Regions from separate parts of the Homo sapiens genome. Here region 2 is linked to region 1. Evidence: promoter capture Hi-C in 16 types of primary human blood cells and fetal thymus (Javierre and others, 2016). All regions are on one chromosome and are shown on one strand. Each heading gives the region's core, a stretch centred on a gene start or on the middle of the fragment in contact. The rest is flanking DNA. Distances are from core to core; before and after follow the strand shown.

Region 1 (7,420 bases), core at 4,758-7,257:
GGGGAGGGGGAGGGCACTGGACAGAGATGGAGGAAAGGGGAGAGAGCGGGTGTGAGGGGTGCTTGGACCCAGAGAGGAAGAGAGGCAGAGATTTCACCAGGGCTCAGCCAGGTCAAACTAGGAAGGGTAGACGGATGAGAAGGAAAGGACAAGGAAACCCAGAGAAGAATCCTGCCAGGGGAGAGGCCTGGAGGTTGGAATCGGCCTGGTATGTGATGCATCTTAGGCAGAGGGGTCCTCTGACGGCAACAGGAATTTTAGGGTGGCTAAATTGAGATCGCTCTGTCTCCCATCTCCCACTTTCTGCCTGAGAAAGAAAAGAAAACCTAAATCCATCAGTAGACAACATAGGTGACAGCAAAGGTCAGGGCTCCCAGCCCTGGGGAACCCACTCAGGGCCCACCTGGCTTTCCTGAGACCACCTAACAGTAACCTACTCTTATCCCACACAGATCCCAGAGGTCCTCTCTGCTTCTTGCCCCAGCTTTACTCTTCACCCAGCCTTTGGGGTTACATTCGCTCACTGAAGGCTTATCAGGCATTTACTATGTGCCAGGCACCGGCTCTGGGTTTCTCTCGGGGCAAACTGAACTGGTTGAAACACGGGACAGGTCTCATCCAAAGTGGGAGTCAGCCCCACTCCAGAGGAATTGAAGGTAGCATTGGGAGTGGTGCAGGATGAGACCACCAGTCGGGGAGGAACTCTTCCCAGCTCCCAGAACAGGGGTGTCTCATTTGTATAATCTGCGCCAATCAAGCCAGGACTGAAATTTGAGGGAAGCCAGAATTGGAGACTAGGACTGAGAAGATTGAGTTACATTAGGCCTTGAAACAAAGGCTTAAAGTGGTTGGGCTGGAGTTAGGTGAGAACAGCAAGTCATGGGCAGGGCACAGAGAGTGAAGGGAGACTGTTGAGGGATGAGGTGGGAGAAGCCACTGAGGCCAGATCAGGTGGAACCTTGAATGCCAGGTCCCAAACTCTGGGATTTTTCCTATAAGCAGTGGGGAGCCATGGGAGGGATTTGAGTAGGGTAGTGACATAGTTAACATTGCATTTTAAATAGATGTTCTGACGGCTGTGCTGAAAACAGAAGGGAGGGGGAAGAGACTGGAGATGCTAAAATTGGCAGGAATGATGGTCGCCTTAGCCAGAGGAGGTGGCAGAGGAGATGGTGAGAAGTGAGTGGATTCCAGAGATGTGTAGGAGGTAAAATGAACCATTTATTGGGCCCTGTGCTAACTGCATTACAGTGATCATCTCGTTGAATCAGTGCAACAACCTTATAGGTATCATTTTAAACCATCTTACCTGTCCAGGGTCAAACAAGAAGTATCAGAGGTGGCATTCAAATTCAAGCAGTTTGATGCCAAGATCCATGCTTTTAACCCCTCCTGTGTACTGCTTCCCCAATAAGGCAACAACAGGGAAGTATCCATTACATATATGTGTGAATTTTCATGTTTAAAAAAACAGGTATTGAGCTGGGCATGGTGACTCATGCCTGTCATCTCAGCACTTTGGGAGGCTGAGGCGGGAGGATCACTTGAGCCCAGGAGTTCAAGACCAGCCTGGGCAACAAAGTGAGACCTCGTCTCTACAAAAATATTTAAAAATTAGCTGGGCGTGGTGTCTCACGCCTGTGGTCCCAGCTACATAGGAGGCTGAGGCAGGAGGATCGCTTGAGCCCAGGAGGTCGAGGCTGCAGTGAGCCATATTCATGCCACTGGACTCCAGCCTGGGCAACACAGGGAAACCCTGTCTCAAAAAAAAGATATTCATTCAGATGGTTCAAAATTCAAAAGGTAGGCCAGATGCAGTGGCTCACACCTGTAATCCCAGCACTTTGGGAGGCCAAGTGGACAGTGGATCACTTAAGGTCAGGAGTTCACAACCAGCCTGGCCAACATGGCAAAACCCCATCTCTACTAAAAAAAAAAAAAAAAAAAAAAAAAATAGCCGGACGTGGTGGTTTGTGCTTGTAATCCCAGCTACTCAGGAGGCAGAGGTAGGAGAATCGTTTGAACCCAGGAGGCGGAGGTTGCAGTGAACTGAGATTGCACCACTGCACTCCAGCCTGGGCAACAGAGTGAGACTCTGTCTCAAAAACAAAACAAAACAAAACTACTGAGATGCTGTTTTTCATCTTTCAGGGTGGTGAGTATCAAAAAGTTTGATAATGTTCCATACTGGCAGGTTGGCCAGAAACAAGCGTTCTCATAAATCGCTTGTGGAAGTTTCATTGGTATAACCTGTGTAGAAGGCAACTGGGCAAAATCTAGAAAAATAAATTCATTTACTGTTTTGTTCAGCTTCATACTTCTAGGAATTTCTTACAGGTAGACTCATATATGTGCTAAAAGGTGTATGTATAAGATGATACACTACCAGGCTGTTTATTTTTTTATTTTATTTGAGATGGAGTCTCAAAAGGTACAAAGGGGTATAAAGTGAAAAGTTTCCCTACCCTCTGGAAGCAAATAGTATTATCAGGTATCTTTCACAGACATACAAGATGGTGTGCTGAAAAAAAAAAGATGGTGTACTGATAAGTTAGCACAGTGGCTAAGAGTAACAGGTGCTGGAGCCAGACTTCCTGGGTTCATATCCTGGTTCTACCAATTTACCAGCTGTGTGAACTTAGGAAAATTCCTCTCCGCCTCTTAGTTTATTCAGCTGTAAAACAAAGATAGTTGTCGTACCTGTCACATAGGGTTACAGTAAGAATTTAAGTGAGTAATACAGGCAAAGTTCTCTAAAGAGTACTTGACAGAAAACAGCCACAATTTAAATGTTAGCTATTCTCTGTCTGATATAACCCTTCTCTTCTCTTTGTACACAATTACCACACAGTTTGACATCTTGCATTTTTTACTTAACTAAATATCTTGGCAATCATTCCATAGTTCCATGTTATTATAATGACAGCGGCATAGTATCAGAGTTTATTTAAACAGGCTACCAACAATGAGCACTTTGGGAGTGTCCATTCTTTATCCTATTATAAACAGCCCTGGCCTGGCCCAGTGGCTCACACCTGTAATCCCAGCACTTTGGGAGGCCGAGGCAGGCAGATCACATGAGGTCAGGAGTTCATGACCACCCTAGCCAATATGGCGAAACCCCATCTCTACTAAAACTACAAAAAAAAAAAAAAAAATTAGATGGGCGTGGTGGTGAATGCCTGTAATCTCAGCTACTCAGGGAGGGTGAGGCAGGGAGAATTGCTTGAACCCGGGAGGCGGAGGTTGCAGTAAGCGGAGATCATGCCACTGCACTCCAGCCTGGGCAACAGAGTGAGACTCCGTCTCAAAAAAAAATAAAAAATAAACAGCCCAGTCATGTATTATCTTATACATATATCTTTTAGCACATGTATGAGTCTATCTGTAAGATGAATTCCTAGAAGTATGAAGGTGAACCAAACAGTAAATGAATTTGTTATTTTTTTTTTTTAGATTTTGCCCGATTGCCTTCTACACGTTATACCAATGAAACTTCCACAGGCGATTTATGAGAACGCTTGTTTCTGGCCAACCTACCAATACGGAACGTTATCAAACTTTTTGATACTCACCACCCTGAAAGATGAAAAACAGTATCTCAGTATTTTTGTTTGCTTGTTTGTTTTTGAGATGGAGTCTCGCTCTGTTGCCCAGGCTGGAGTGCAGTGGTGCAATCTCGCCTCAGTGCAACCTCCGCCTCCTGGGTTCAAGCAATTCTCCTGCCTCAGCCTCCCAAGTGGCTGGGATTACAGGCGCCTGCCACCACAGCCAGCTAATTTTTGTATTTTTAATAGAGATGGGGTTTCACTATGTTGGCCAGGCTAGTCTCAAACTCCTGACTTCAAGTGATCCACTGTCCACTTCGGCCTCCCAAAGTGCTGGGATTACAGGCATGAGCCACTGCGCCTGGCCGAAGTTGAGCATCTTAAGCCCCAACTGTATTTTGGATTTTGCATCATAGCCATCACTGTTGACCTTGATGGGCCTAGTTTTAGTCGCAGGAAGGAGGGTTATTCCAATTAAGAGAGAGCTAAGGAATAAATAGGTAAAGTGGTAGAGTTCGAGTAGGCATTAATTTGACAAAGAGGAAGAAAGAAATAAGGGAGATGGCTAGATGGGGGCAGGAGTTTCAGGGTGTGCTTAAAATGCAGACTATGAAAAAGGAACCTGGAAGGCCTTGAACCGTGTTTAAACTGCAGGGACTCTGGGCACTGCCAGCTAGTAGCTGGCTGACCTTGTGAGAGTCACTTAAGCTCTCTGGGGAATTATTTTCCTCGTCTGTAAAAACGGCCTAATAGTCCCTACAACGTAGGACTTCTGTAAGCATTAAATGAGTGAACATGTTTAACAAACTCAGAAAAGAGCCTGGCAAAGTTGTCACACTGTAGGACCGAGCAGGGAGGTCTCCTCTCCCCGGCCCTCGACTTGTGTTTTCCCAACGCATATTCCCGCACGCTCTCACGGCTCCAGCCTCCGGGCCGGAATGGCTGCCGGTGAGACTGTGGTACAACCCGCTGTGCGCAGGCGCGTGGCGGGCAAGGAGGGGGCGCGAGGGGCGGGGCTGCAGCCGCCTGGGCTGTTCCAACGAGCGCGCGCCGCCCCCGCCGCGCCCCGCGCCGCCCTTGCTAGCCGAGCCTCCCGCCCCCTGCATTGCTGATGCTGCTGCTGGCGGACATGGACGTGGTGAATCAGGTACGCGCTCCAGCACCGTGGACAGAGCCCGCCGCCGCCCGGCTGCCTAGGCCGGGTCGCTCAGGCCAGCCGACTCTGGGAGGTGGTGGCCAGGGTCTGGCAGCGGAGACCCGGTCCCCGGCGCTGGGGATGGGGGTCTGCGGCAGGTGAAGGGGAGGAAGGGGGAGGTGGAGAAAAGGAGTGCGCTCTTTGCCGCAGCGAGGGCCGTCCTCACTGCCGCAGCGGGGGCCCCCGGAGCCCCGTTTATTACTGGCGACCGCGAGGGGAGGAATAGGGGCCTGGGGGCTGGAGTGAGGGCAAGGGACAAGGGGAGGGGAGAGTGGAAGGAAGATGGGGGGTGCTGCGGATAAGCTAGGAAATAGAGCGACAGAAGGTGTGGGGGCGGGGATGGGGGAGAGGGCTGGCACCCGCCCCTCCCAAACAGAGACTGTACCCCCATAGGCGACCACCCCTTCCCCCAGAGCACACCTAGGGGACAATCCGGTTTTACTCCTTCCAAAACCCCCAGCCTCCTCACCCCCAACACATAGCGACTGAAGCCGTGTCCCAGCCCTCCCCCACCTTAATCAGTCCAGACCCTCTCCGCCATGTCTCTCGTCTTTGCCACCTCAGAAACTCACCCCCAATCAGTCCCAACCCTTCCCCATCCCCATCACCTCAAATATCTACCGCCACCGCCGTCTAACACACCTTTACCCCTGCAGACCCTTCCCCCACCTGAGCCAAACCGACTCCTGCCCCGTTATGACTCACCTTCACCATCACAACCCCCCCACCCGAATGCACCCCACTCCATCCCCATTCTCTACCCGAACCCCTTCCCCATCCGACTCGCCTTTACGTTTCAAACCTGCTCCCCCTCCTTAACTAGTCCTGACCTCATCCCCATCTCCCTCACCCCCGACTTCCTCTGCCATCTGACTCACCATCTCTTCAGACCTTCCCACCAGTCCTTGGACCCTGGGGCTCACACCATCCCCAAGGTGTCACTTTCTCCTTCTCACCCTCTCCCCGAGGTCACATGCTCCATCCCCTGGGGTCATTGATGGGCAGCCTTGCCGCTCACCTCCCTGTACCTCCAACAACCCCACCCCTTCCCCACTGTTTCTCTCCTCAGCTGGTGGCTGGGGGTCAGTTCCGGGTGGTCAAGGAGCCCCTCGGCTTTGTGAAGGTGCTGCAATGGGTGAGTGTGGTCCGGGCTGTTGGGGCAGAGTGCAGGGAGAGAGGGAGGTCATGGGGTCCAGAAGAGCAGGGGTGGAGTAGGGGCGAGTAGCCAGGGATGAGTGCGGGGGTTGTAGGGGATGGGGGAATTGGGCTCCAGGGTGAGGTTTCAGGGGTCTGAAGCCAGAAAACAGATGAGCTGTGACGTCACATAGGGCTGAGGGTACCCCCGTTGTGAAGTGGGAGACTGTGACGTCCTACCTCCTCTCTTGAAGTGAGGGAGGGGTGGGGGAGGTGGAGCCTGTAGCAGATGCTGGGTGAGAGATGCAAAGTCAGAGAAACCCAGAGACAGTGAAGGTGACAGAGAGAATGAGGGACAGGGAATGATAAAGACAGAGATGGAAATACTGAGAAAAAAAAAAGAAATATGGAGATGAGAAGAGATACAGACATAAGAGAGAAGAGACAAACAGAAACAAAGAAAAAGGAGACACAGAAAACAGATGCAAAGAGAAACAGACGCAGGGAGAGAGGCAGGAAAACAGGGTGAGGGAGAGAGAGACACAGAGAGAAAGAGACACTCAGAAAAAAGAGAAACCAACACACAGAGGCAAGAGGGAGACAGAGAGAGAACCATCCGGAGACCGAGTGAGAGACAGGACAGAGAGACAGAGACAAACAGACCAAGAAACAGAAAGACACAGACATACAGGCATACACTTACACAGACAGAGAAAAAAGAGACAAAAAGAGACATCGACAGATCAGATAGGCAGAGGCAGAGAGGATCAGAGACACAGAGAGACAAAGAGACATCTGAGAAAGACAAAGACACATAGAGAAACAGAGATACCGAGAGAAACAGAGACACAGTGAGATACACAGAGAACAACAGAGACAAACAGAGAAGAGGGAGGTCAGCATGGAAAGGCAGAGACAGAGAGAGACACAGAGAGAGAAACAGGAAGAGACAGCCATACCCTTGTAATCAGCTTGTCCTTGGTCCCGATGAGCCCTGATTAGGGGGTGGGGGTGGGGACTGCTCCATCTGCTGCTGCCTGTGCTGGGCCCCCGATCTGTCCAGAGGAGGGCACCTCCCTCCCACATGCACACAGGTTCACTGTGGCCATCCCCATCCCTGCTGCCCAAGGTCTTCGCCATCTTCGCCTTTGCCACATGCGGCAGCTACAGTGGGGAGCTCCAGCTGAGCGTGGATTGTGCCAACAAGACCGAGAGTGACCTCAGCATCGAGGTCGAGTTCGAGTACCCCTTCAGGTGTGCTCCCACCCTGGGATACCAACAGACCTGGGAGAGGAAGGGGCAGGGTGGAACCGGCCAATACCTCCCCCCGCAAGTAGCTCCTGCCCAGCTCCCACCTCGAGGCTACATCCACTGGGATCACTGAGCACCTGCCTTGTACCTGGCACTGCTCTGGACTCTAGGACTATGTGGTGAGCAAGGCAGACATAGGCTGTGGCCCTCTGGCTCTGTTCCAGCGAAGGGGTAAGGGACAGGCAATAAACAAGATACAAAAGTAAGACAGGTGTATATACATACCTTAACC
Region 2 (6,556 bases), core at 3,032-5,531, 71 kb before region 1:
AGCAGGGGCTCAGCCAGGTCTCATACAACAAATCCTCTGTACTCCATCCCACAAGCCCTGTGACATCTTAGGACCACTCTGCATCTCTTTCCCTGCTGGAACCTAGCACTGTGCCCAGCACACAGTAGGCAGTCAATAAATGCTTGTCGATGAATCATCTCTAAGCTTTAGAGTTACCAAATGCCTGGTCCAGCAACCCAGGGAAAGCAGCCATTTGGGTTTCTGAACTCTATCCTGATGGCTACCACGGACTTCTCCCATGCCCTCACCTGATGTGGCTGTGCTCAGTGCACAGAGGGCCTACAGCCAACATTTCCTCAACAGGAAGCCCTCTGATAGGGCTCCCACAGGTAAGGGATATACCCTGAGATCCTCCGCCATTTCCCAAGAGGGCTAGGTCACAAAGGGTGGCTAGTCTTCAACAGTGCTGCAAGTCACTGGCAGCACACAGGTTCTAAAACAATAATATGTTGAAATGTACTCACCAAGAAAGCCACCGACCTACAAAGAAACCCTTATCGCTGATCTTGCAATGAGCACCAACCTCCCCTTTGCAAGAGCTGAGATCGAAAGATAAAGAAGCTATCAAAAAGCCATCTGCCCACTTAAAATAATATCACAAGTCATGTTAGGAACCACAGACCTGGGGCCAGATACCAAAACAATTGTCTGAACAGGCTGCTTCAATTTCTCCTTAAAACCGCCCATGTATGTTAAAAGAAAAACACCCTCTCCACCCACCTTGGCCCTGCAAGGTTTTGATTTCTCTGTTCTCTGCCTTTCACACTCTTTAAAATGACCAAACTCCTTTACCCAAACTGTCGCATCTTACAGACAGGGTTCCCATGACAGCCGGCGGGGATGACAGCTTGGGAAAGTGATAGAAATGAAGGTAGCTCTGGGGTACTGGACCTGCTCAGTATCTTCATCTGGGTGGTGGCTACACAAGTGCATACATATGTACAAATCCACTGGGCTATACACAGAATATCAGTACACTTTATGTAGGTATACCTCGATAAAGCAAAAAAAAAAAAAAAGGTAAAAGGAAAGCACGACATGCTGGGAACACCAAGAGTGAAATCCAGAATTTGCCCTGAATCATGCCACGCTTTCTAGAGGACCAGTTTAAAAAAAAAAAATAGAAAAAAATAAATGTCCCTAGCATTTCTTCCCTGGCCCTGTCACTCACTAGCTGAGAGGCTTTGAGCAAGCTGGCTCATCTCTCTGAGCTACCTGTCTCCCCTCTACTAAATGGGGATAATCATAGCACCTACACAACACAGCATGCACAGCAGGCCTCACGGAGAGAATGGATCTGATGTTCATAGCACAGAAATCAGTAAATGCTGGCCAGTTATCTTTTGCAGTTACCACCATGCTTCAGTTACCTTGCCCATGTTTGCTGCATTCAATCCAACCATGCAAAGTGACTGTCATTTCCCTTAGCAGAGAAGGAAACGGAGGCAAGGCCACACAGCTGATGGGCGGAGCCGAATTTAGGAGAGGAATCCAGGAAACTGTAGGTGTGGCTCCCTAAATACTGACACTAGCTAACACCTGTATGATACTACTTTGAGCCAGACTCGGTTCTGAGCACCTTTACTCTTATCCCGTAAAGTAGATGCTATAATTCTGTTTTACAGGTGAGGGTCCTGAGGCATGGTGTAGTTAAATGCGTTGGCCAAGGTCACAAGGCCAGTAAGTGGCAGCGCCAGGATTTGAACCCAGGCAATCTATGCCAGAATCCACACTCTTAATGCTGTAAGAAAAACCATGCTGCCTGCCCCCTTTAAATGAAGTCTCAGATTATGGTGGGGCTCACAGGTGGGTGAGTGGGTACCTGCCTGCCTGCTCAGTTACCCAGGCACATCTGCCCACCAGACCGGAGCTAGACCTTTCTGAACCACTCACAGCCTAAGGCCTTACCAGAACCAGCAGAACCCACAAATGTCTTACTGCAGCCAGGGGCTTCTGACCAAGCGTATACATACAAGGTCCAAAAAGCATTTTCCCATTTCCATTCCCAGTCCTCCCAGGAACAGGGAAATGTATACATTTTAGGGAGAATCTAGTGATCCTGGGCCAGACTTAGGTGACCGCAAAAAGAATCAGGACTAGCTGCTGCCCTTAAAGAACTCATAGCTTGATAGAGGAAACCTAGGGAAATCTTCTGGGGCCCCCTGGGGTATAACTGATTATTTCTCCCTGTCCCTAAATGATCACAGGTGGTGTGGCAAAAAAACAAGGGACAAAAACTTCAAGTCCAGTACCCATCTGGTTCTGTCTCTCTGCTAGAGCCACTGCTTTCTTGTGAGAGCATGGGCTCAGCCCCTCGCCTCCACAGGACTCAAAAGTAGATTACAGCGTTAACAGTAGAGTGCACAGGCTTCAAGGTCAGGCATGGGTGAACTGGAAGAGCCAGGTGCCATCACTGCCTCAACCAGTTTCTCCACCTCTGGAATCCTGGTTTCCTGCTCTGTCAGAAAGAGAATCTGCTCTACCCCCCACTGGCAAAGCCCTTGGTCCACACTATGTCATTGCAGTTCTCTCCACTCCAGCACACTGCTGATCATTCACACCAAGCTCATTTCCACCCCAGGACCTTTGCACTTGCTGTTTCCTCTACCTAGAACACCCTTGTTCCATATATGCACATAACTGTTATTCATCATCCAGGACTTAGTTTAAATGAAACCTCCTCAGAAAAGTCCTCCCTGTTCCTTTTCCTACAAACTCTCCCCCACCTCCCCACCGTATCTGCATAACTCTTCTTTATCATCATTCGGGACTCACCTCCTCAAAGGCCCTCCCTTTAACAGCATGTCTGACACAGTCATTCCCTCCCAATCTATCCCCTTACTCCCTTCAGCAGCTAACTTTGTCCCTATTTATCCTATCTGCTTGCTTGCTTGTTTTTTCAAACTGTCTCCCATAGGAGCCTGTATGAATCCTTGAGGGTAGGGTAGATGTCTGTCTTGTTCAGGGCTTTACAGTGGAACTCAATAAATGGAGGAATAAAACCCCAGTTAAAACAGTGCCTAGCACGTGTTTGACCTCCATCACTCTTTGACTGACTGACTCAATGCACCCTCCTCCCTGTCCTGGAGAGCAGGCCTGAGGGGTTCCTGGGCCGGAATGCTTGTCCTCCATCCCAGACACAGCCCTGCGTTGGCGGAGGTGGCGCTGGCTGACATTACCTGCGCCTCACCGGCTTCATGCAGCTCTTCAGCTGCCTGGCCTCAGCCTCCACGGGACCCTGGCACTCGGGCTGTGGCTCCAGCTGCGGCAGCTGCTGCTGCTGGGGCAGCCCTTCGGCATCAGTGGGTGTGGGAGCGGGTGCGATCCGGAGCAGGACTGTGTAGTTGCGGCCGTGGTTGTTGGCCCAGAAAGTGCCCTCAGGGGTCTCATAGCGCACCACGAAGTCGAGGCGCGCCCCATCGCCCGCGCCCTCAGCAAAGGGCAGCTGGAAGGCAAAGCGGTCGGTGCGGCCGCCGTCGTCGGGCGAGGAGGCGGATGCCTGGCCGGGACCCAGGCCGAGCCCCGGATCCAGGATGGGATCTCCTGCTCCTGTTCCTCCCGCTCCTGCCCACGGCGGGCTGCGCGGGACGTAGCGCGCTGGGTGGTCGCAAAAGGAAGCCCAGCCGTCGTGTGAGGCCCGCACGTGCACCGCCTTCTCGAAGGAGCGGTTCAGCACGCGTACCAACCCGCGCAGCACCGGCGGGCGGCCCCCAGGCACCCACACCCCGGCACCCCCGGGGACCGCTCCGGGAGGCGGCAGCAGCGCCTCCAGCTCCACCATGACGCGCCCCAAGCGCTCCAGACGGCCCGGCGCGGGCGGCAGCGAAAATGTGGGGACCAGGTAAAACCCCCCGCCAGCGGGGACGGGGCACAGCGGTGAGGGCTCGGGGCAAGCCTCCTCTTCCTCCTCCCCTTCATCCCCATCCTCGCCATCGTCGTCCTCGTCGGCCCCGCCGCCGCCGCCGCCATCTTGCCCGGCCGCCGCCGCCATCTTGCCCGCCCCGGGCCCGCCCCACGGCCGGTAGCGGCGCAACTGCGCCAGCGGCAGCCCCAAGGCCTCGTCGGCGAACAGCACCCTCCGCGGGGCCACCGCCGCCTCGACCGAGGTGCGGGGCTCACCCGCGGCCGGCGAGGGGGGCGCGGAATGCCGCAGCGGGGGCTCCACAGGGGCCGTACGCGCCATATCGGCGGCGGCGGCGGCACCGACGGCACCGGCGGCGGGACCGGCGGGGGCAGGGCCTGAAGGGGCGGGCAGCCAATGGGAAGGCCAGCGCGGAGGGGTACGGCTCACGGGGGCATAGGCGGTGAGATGAAGACAAGTATTGCAGAGGGCCAATGGGCAGCCATGCACGGATGACGTACAGCGAATTGAGAGCCGGAGAAGCACGCAGCCAATGGGGATGCCCGGGAGTGGGCGGTGTAGGGGGCGGGATGATCGAGGAATCAATGGAGAGGCCGGAATGGGGGTGGTGCGAAATCCATGATGAAGAAAACAGAAGCAGACAGCTAATGCGGAAGTCTGAGCGAGAGAGGCATGTGGGCGGTGGGAAAAGTGGAATGGCTACAGGCGATGAGGGCAGCCGGGAACGAACGCAGAGGCCCAAAAAGTGGGAGATCCCGCGGGTTGCGTAGGCGGTGGAACGGTAGCTAGAGAGAGAGAACAGCCAATGGAGAGCCACGCGTGGGATGACGACAATGGCTGCAGCGAGCCAATGGGGAGGCTTGTGAGCGTGCACTGCGGCTTCGAAGGGGTGGTGCCAAGGTGGAGCTAGCCAATACGAAGGCTAAAAGGAGACCAAGAGGCGGGTGTGTAGGGAGCCGAGCCAATGGAGGTGGAGGCTGAAGGCGGGAGCGAGGACGAGAGCTGGCGGATAGCCAATGAGGGAGCCAGGGTGAAGGCGTAGAGACCTCAAAGGACAGTACTAGTATGGGATGAGCCAATGCCGAGGCTAGATAGTGCAGCGGGACGGAGGGAGGACTTGGAGGCAAGATGGGGAAAAAAGCAGAGCCGACGGGGGCAGTGTAGGTGGTGTGAAGGGAGGCATGAGTAGCCAATAAGGAGGCTGGAGAGGAGGACGCTGTGTAGACAGAGTCTGAGGTATTGGGTGGCCGGACAGCAGAACCATAGAACGCAGGCAGCCATTAGGAAAAATGTGCTTCTCAGGGATGGGGTTACCCTCTCCCTAACCCTCCGTGACTCCCCATTGCCCCAGGAATACCCAGAGCCCCTGAAGGCCTAGACCACACCTTGGTGTGTGAACTAGGAAAGTGAAAATGACTGTCCTGTTGCAGTTAGTTACTTACTGGGTCCTCCCTGCCCAACTACAACCTTTTCTTGAGCAGTGCCACAAGCCAAGAATGCCCCTGATTGTTAGCCGCAAGCACTCTCCAGGACTTGATACTATTGTTGAATGAATGGCCGAATAGGAAATTTAACTTTCTGAAGGATTCACTTTTTTAAATTTCAGCTCAGCAAACACTGACCTGACTGTGTGCTACCAGAAGTTGATTGGGCATATGGGTAGCTTCTGACTAATGGAATCACAATCAAAGCCCTGTCCTTCTTGCCCAACCTGACACTCCACACCCCACAGGGGCCTCACCTCCCTTCTTTCTGTCCCCCCATCTCTGCTTCTACTGTTCCCTCTCCCAAGAGTGCTGTTCCTTCTGCTGCTTCCATCTAGTAAACTCCTTTCGCTCTCCCTTTGGGGTCTCACCTTCTGTGGGAACTCAACTGCAGCTTTTGTCCGCTGAACACATCCATTCATACATTCCTTCTCCATCCTGGGAAGATTTACTGAACACCTACTGAGTGCCAGGTTCTGAGCATGCTGTTATCTCATTAGAACCTCACAGCATCCTAGGAGGGAGGTGATCCTTCCAGCAGCCCCTCTCCCCAGGTCTCCATGTTCAGGATGTCCATGAGTTAGAAATGAATATGTTCAGCTGCAAGTAACAGAAAAATCATAAAATAATGGGGGCTTAAGCAAGACAGAACTTTATTTTTTTCTCACCTAAAAGTTCAAGCTGGCAAATAGTCCAGGGACTCCTTCCTGCCCACCTGGTTTGGGCATTGTCTGTCCCGATCTGGCTCCAAGACTCTCAGTCTTCAACAAATCCTTTTGGCTGTCTATTAAAAATATTTACCAAATCCATCCTCTTCTCACCACCTCCACTGCCAGCACTATCACCAGTCACCTAGACTACTGCAGTAGCCAGCTCCTTGCTGGTCCCCTGCTTCCACATTCAGGCCCTAGACCCCATTGTACACTCAGCATTCAGGGGCTTCCTGTTAAATCCTAACACGGTTTGTGTTTCTCCTCTGCTTGCAACCCTGTCATGCCTTCCTCCTCACTCAGCGTTGAAGCCAAAGTCCTTACCATGGCCTACAAGGTCCTGCGTGGTCTAACCTCCGAGTCCCCTTTCTGACCTCACCTCCAGCTTCTCTTCTTGCTCTCTCCACACTAACCACACCAGCCCCCTTGTAGACCTTGAACAAATCAGGTACATTCCCACCTCAGGACCTTTGCCCTGG

What was found. The method cuts DNA at HindIII sites, captures the fragments that hold promoters and counts their contacts. A CHiCAGO score of 5 or more calls a contact.
Region 2: the fragment with the promoter of PPP1R3F here is called in contact with the fragment with the promoter of SYP-AS1 in region 1 in 9 of 17 cell types (fetal thymus, neutrophils, naive CD8 T cells and 6 more); the score reaches 11.3 in fetal thymus.

What each region holds. Positions count from the first base shown.
Region 1 is chrX:49,197,426-49,204,845 of GRCh38, reverse strand. It overlaps SYP-AS1 (SYP antisense RNA 1), which reads right to left and starts at 6,007. Exons shown (of 2, transcript NR_046649.1): 1 at 5,622-6,007; 2 at 2,392-2,674. It overlaps SYP (synaptophysin), which reads left to right and starts at 4,653. Exons shown (of 7, transcript NM_003179.3): 1 at 4,653-4,695; 2 at 5,813-5,878; 3 at 7,007-7,131. The coding sequence starts at 4,660. RefSeq lists silencers at 4,461-4,700, 4,771-4,820. The HindIII fragment of the contact is 12,908 bases long and covers 1-7,420 here.
Region 2 is chrX:49,267,518-49,274,073 of GRCh38, reverse strand. It overlaps PPP1R3F (protein phosphatase 1 regulatory subunit 3F), which reads right to left and starts at 4,281. Exons shown (of 4, transcript NM_033215.5): 1 at 3,201-4,281. The coding sequence starts at 4,204. RefSeq lists a silencer at 4,006-4,245 and enhancers at 4,946-4,995, 4,693-5,192. The HindIII fragment of the contact is 7,823 bases long and covers 168-6,556 here.